Linked DNA regions of Homo sapiens: region 1 is linked to region 2. The links are contacts of gene promoters, found by promoter capture Hi-C in blood cells and fetal thymus (Javierre and others, 2016). All regions are on one chromosome and are shown on one strand. Each heading gives the region's core, a stretch centred on a gene start or on the middle of the fragment in contact. The rest is flanking DNA. Distances are from core to core; before and after follow the strand shown.

The links. The method cuts DNA at HindIII sites, captures the fragments that hold promoters and counts their contacts. A CHiCAGO score of 5 or more calls a contact.
Region 1: a contact is called between a fragment that was not itself captured here and the fragment with the promoter of EPHA1-AS1 in region 2, in 1 of 17 cell types (fetal thymus). The highest score is 5.1, in fetal thymus.

The regions. Positions count from the first base shown.
Region 1 is chr7:142,812,781-142,815,480 of GRCh38, reverse strand. LOC105375541 (a long non-coding RNA gene) reads right to left here and starts at 1,284. Exons shown (of 2, transcript XR_001745392.2): 1 at 1-1,284. It also overlaps TRB and TRBV30. The HindIII fragment of the contact is 787 bases long and covers 908-1,694 here.
Region 2 is chr7:143,406,477-143,409,176 of GRCh38, reverse strand. It overlaps EPHA1-AS1 (EPHA1 antisense RNA 1), which reads right to left and starts at 1,364. Exons shown (of 5, transcript NR_033897.1): 1 at 1,291-1,364. It overlaps EPHA1 (EPH receptor A1), which reads left to right and starts at 321. Exons shown (of 18, transcript NM_005232.5): 1 at 321-453; 2 at 1,499-1,566. The coding sequence starts at 372. RefSeq lists an enhancer at 1-249. The HindIII fragment of the contact is 7,900 bases long and covers 1-2,073 here.

The sequences.
Region 1 (2,700 bases), core at 52-2,551, 590 kb after region 2:
GAATAACTAAACAGTATTGCAGATGGGGATGGAGATTGAGGAGATTTTTTTAAAGGCATCAGCCATATGGAAGGAGCTTCCAGCTACTGAGCTGTGACAATGATCAGGAGCCAGGAGCCAGCTGGTTACTCTGATCTGACTGATACATCTCTTCACCCTCCAATCTGCTGCAGCATCTCTAAGAAGGAGGATTACATTGCTGTCTACATGTGGTAATGACACTGAGCTGATGCAGCTGATGAGTGAAGTCAGGTCTCATAGGATACGCTGGTGTTAAAGACTGCCAGCCAGAGGAAAACGTGATGCGGTACCCTTGAGAACAAGAGCAATTCTCATTCTTTCTCCCTGTATCTCCCACCACCCACTGTCCACTTTCTCTCCACCCCATCCCCACTCAGGACTAAATAAAAATTTCAAAAGCAAAGAGGAAAGAGAACAGAAATGGAAAGAAAGGGAGGAATAGGCTATGTGTGCACATATTTATTTTGGCTTCACTCTCTGCAATCCTAACATGCACAGATATTATATTATCAGATTTATTAAAAACTGAGATTGAACAACTGTTCAATGAAAACTGCTCTTGCGTTGGCTATAGCTATTTTTCATCATATGTTCCAAATGTTCACTGCAAGCAAACTATATTTACCACTTGATTTATCATTTAAATAAATGTTATAAGAGGATTAATTCCATTTTGAAATGATAAAAAACAAAACATTCCCCTATACATATGGTGTATTCAAATGCAAACAAAAAAATGTGCTACAGCCAAAACTGTCAGAAGCAAGAACCCCAACATTAACTTGGAATTGTGTTACTGTAGCATCAGCAACAACAACAAACATATGACATCACTAGGCCCTGATGAAATGGGAAAGTGTTACAAATGCTTTATTTGCTTAAAGCTTATTCTCCCTGTTCAGCCACTTTTACGGCTTTCTTTCCTGGGTTTTCATCTCAAACCGCTCCACCACATCCAACCCAAACTAAGTAATTGTTCTGAATATGAATCCTTCAGAATACAGAGCATGGCAAAGACAGAGGGAAGAGGAGTTTCCAAGGGTGTGCTGGTGTCCTCCAGGCATCTGAAGGTCTTTTGTCCCATTTCAGCAGAATGACATTTTAGCAGCTACCTAGCAGAGTCCCATGCTTAGCTATTATGAATCCTTACTATTATGAATTCGTGGCTTGACTGTGTTTTTTGTGGCTCGTGATCCCTTCAGCCCCTACCTTCCACCCCATGCCATTGTAAATCTCCCAATCTTTGCTGCAGACATAGGGAGTCAAAAAAAAAAAAAAAAAAAAAAAAAAAAAAAAGCCAACATATGTAAGAGTGCCTGCCTGCAGTGCACCAGGCAAAATGCATCTTTCAACAATTTTTAGATATTGTCATCATTATTTTCACTTTATAGATAAGAAAATTGAGAATCAGGGTTTGCTTGAGAGTTCCCAAGCCAGCAAGAAGCAGAGCTGTGAAATGAACCCAAATCCATATGATTCCAAGTCTCTGTGATGTTTCCTATTACTCATATTGCATTTAGAGGATAAATTAGATCTAGTTGGCCCATTAGAGACACATGGAGCAGATTCCAACTTTGATCAGTTCAGGAGTTAATTATGCCTGTCCAGGTCTCAAAATCTGTCTGCCAGGGATGAAGATTATGCAGGCGATCCCTTTGGCTGTCATAGAAGCTTCCTGCCCTCAGAACTGAGCATTTCTGCTTTGATTACCCCAAAATACCTGAATCTCTTGAGCCCTATCCTTTCATCTCCCAGGTAACATGTCTAGCTCTAGTTTCCAATTTCAGATAAACTAAAATCTTTTTTCATCCTTCTATCAGTATCACAGTTTCTCTGAAGCTTTCCCAGGCTTCTGATGTCTCCCGGGGGAGCTGGAGAGTTACCTTTAGTTTACAGGTAAATAATGAGTCATTAAATATATTTACATACCAGGATGTCAGCAGGAATGCAAAGAAGATAACAAGTGCAGAGTATAGCTGGTTCCCAGGGAGGCTGGGGGTGATTCACCACACTCTTAAAAGAAGACTAGCCTCATTTCCTCCCCAGCTCATGGGGTAGGATTCCTCTGCTCTGGCAGCAGATCTCCCAGAGGGAGCAGCCTGACCACATCACTGGCCCAGAAGAGGAGGCGTCTGTCCCCCAGACTAGCTGAAGGAAAGGCTGGCTTGGATGATGCTCTGCTCTCTCCTTGCCCTTCTCCTGGGCACTTTCTTTGGTGGGTGCCCTCCTCTCTGGCAAGCCTCTTTTCTCATCCTCACCCTCACCCCAATCCCGTGAATGCAGAGTCTGAGCTGTTGGTTTGACACTCTTGAGTCTATTCCTGATTGTCTGGAACAGATATGGGAATTTAGCCTTAGGGGCTGATCTGATGATTCTTAGTTCTCTCTATCTCCTGAGAAGGAGTTCGTTCTGTTGGTCTTCCCTGGCCCAGGGATGCTTTGCATCCTTGGCTCCCCCAGTCTACTCCCCATGATGGATTCCAGGTGCCTGTGTCATGCAAGAGCTTGAGCTGCCCCTCTGTCTGGGGAAGGCAAGCCAGGCTGGGGTGCTCCTCTGTAAATGGCACTTTATCTTTCCCACAGGGGTCAGATCTCAGACTATTCATCAATGGCCAGCGACCCTGGTGCAGCCTGTGGGCAGCCCGCTCTCTCTGGAGTGCACTGTGGAGGGAACATCAAA
Region 2 (2,700 bases), core at 115-2,614:
CAAAGACAGAAAGAGGAATATAGGAGTGTAATTCAAGTCAGAGGTAGAATTAGGTTAAAAGCTGGATCAAGATTGGGTTGAGTTTAGGATTAGAATTGGGAAAAGGTTCGTCAATTCTTAATCCCACCTACTAGGCGGCGCCCGCAGTCTCATTCGGGTCAAGACGCCTCCGGTTCTTGAATTTGATTACCAGTCTAGCAAGTTTCTTTCCTGCCCTACTGTCCCTTTAAGGAGGTGAACCAGGTGAGGCCGGGACTCCGCCCCCGGCGCTGGCCCCGCCCCCCGCCCCCGCCCGGCCCGCCCGGCTCTCCTAGTCCCTTGCAACCTGGCGCTGCCATCCGGGCCACTGTCCCAGGTCCCGGCCCGGAGCTATGGAGCGGCGCTGGCCCCTGGGGCTAGGGCTGGTGCTGCTGCTCTGCGCCCCGCTGCCCCCGGGGGCGCGCGCCAAGGAAGGTACCGACCCCCGCCCCCGCGCCCCCAACCCCCGCGCCCCGCCCCTTCCCGGGGCCCGGCCAGCACCCCCCTGCAGAAGCCGGCATTCCTAGGGGCCATGTTCCCCGAGACCCTCGCCAGCTCTCTCGCTGTGCCCGACCGCCAGGCTATCGACTGGCCAGGCCCATCTTTGGTCTTTAACCCCAAGCGGCTGCTCTCCCGGGTCAGTCACCCCCACTCCCGCAGGCCAGCAATCTGCTCCTGGGAGTGGGGAGGGAATTCCGGACCCTTGCCAGGAAGTAGCACCTGCACCCGCACCCCTGCCTGCATTCCCAGACAGTCCCAGCTTCAGGTGCCCACCCCAGAGATCTGAGCCCTTGGAAGTTGAAGGTGGGAAGTCGCCTCCTGCCAACCTAGGCCAGGGACAGAGGGAGCTGCCTCCGGGAGAAGGGTTAGGACTGACGCCACAGGGGTTCCCAGTTGTCCGAGTCGAATATTCCATGTGAAAGTTGGAACACCCTCTCCGGCCTTACTCCCCCCCACTTCCCAGGCAGGTAGCTGTGCCTCTTATCCCCACTTCACGGCTCTGATCACTGGCCAGGTCAGGCCAAAGCAGGCTTCGGACAGTGGAGGTGAGCCTCCCTACCCAGGAAACCCCTTCTGAGGTCCCCGGTCCACCCTGCCCACTCCTGGCTAGCAGAGGTGAGCTCCTCCTGCCCTCCACGCGTTCCAATCCTGCAGCTGATGGGTGTCCCAGGACGCAGCAGCCTGGGTAACTGAGCGTCTCGTGGGGCTGCTCTTCTTGCATTGACTTTGGTCAAAGACCCAGCGCCCCAACCCTTGTCCCACTCTACCTGCCTTCCTTCACACACACAAAGAAGAGTGAAATCCCTGGAGCTCTTCACTCCTCAGTCCTGAGCCCTTTTTCTCCCCTAAGCCTCAGGAAGTCACAGCTTTTAGGAACAGGATGTTGCAGCCTGGGGCTGAGGCCCCAGAATGATTAATGTGGGCTGCAGGGGCACCTCCTCCCCCAGAGGTGACAGACTTCTTTTCTCCCCACTTTCAGTTACTCTGATGGACACAAGCAAGGCACAGGGAGAGCTGGGCTGGCTGCTGGATCCCCCAAAAGATGGGGTAAGTGTCGGAAGAGGGAAGGATCTTGGAAAACTCCTGAAGGCCAGTGGGAAATGGGGTGGAGAGGTGGGTGGAGGAACAGAGAAAAGAGCAGGAAAAACTGGAAGTGTCTCCTCAGGGAGGGGGAGAGGAGGCTGAGTCAGAGCCTCCTCAATGGGACAAGGGGTGGGGGGGTCAGACTTCACCTCAAGATGAACGCTTGAATGGCCTGGCTCCTCCAGTGAATACTTGGGAATATTGTGAATACAAGCTGATACTTGTGAGGGGGAGAGGAGCTCACATACCCGGGGAGAGAATGCACCATGCTGGGGATGGTTGAAGGCTGAGACCAGTGCTTTGCTTGGGGAGGGATAGAAAAGGCAGAAAAGCATCCTCAATCTGAGATCCATTCATCCCAATGAAGTTGCATTGATAGGTTTCAGGGGGTGGGGAAACCCCATGAAAGTGTACTCTAAATTCTGTATATGTAAGCGGGCATTTTTTTTTCTGGAGAGACCAGCCAAAGCTTTCATCAAATTCTTCAAAGGGTCTTTGACTCCTCCGAAGTTAAAAGCTGCTCCCCTAAAGGTTTCTGAGCCCTTAGCTCATCCTCCACACCTCCTCAGGCTGACTGCGTGCACACCATGCATTCCAGCTGTTTGAAAGTGTCAGAGCTTGTTCCAGTTCCCTTCCTTCCTTGGATGTTCCTAAGACTCAGTGAACAGGTTGTGAGGTGGGTCTGAGAGAGCATATTCAGACTCAAATGCAGAGAGCAGCTCTTATGATGTACAAAAAACCAAACTCAGTTTTTTCCTACTGCACTCTCAACACAAATCACTTCGGTGACCTGTGGTCACCAAAATGCGTGTAGGGATTCCTCCCGCCTGCAGTCAGTTCTCTCTGGCAGATTCTTCAGTGGACAGTAGCTGAGTGTCCTCTAATCTTATTCAGTTCTTACACTATCTACCTGGAGATAGCCTCAGGTTGAGGGCTCAGCCCCACAAGACTGCCCTCCTCTAGACAACAATCACAAGTAACATGTTGTCACCTATACTTCTGTTCCATCGGCTGTAATCAGGTTTACCTGACCCTCCTCCTCGGGTTCAATTAGTTTGCTAGGATGGCTCACAGAACTCAGGGAAACATTGACTTGGA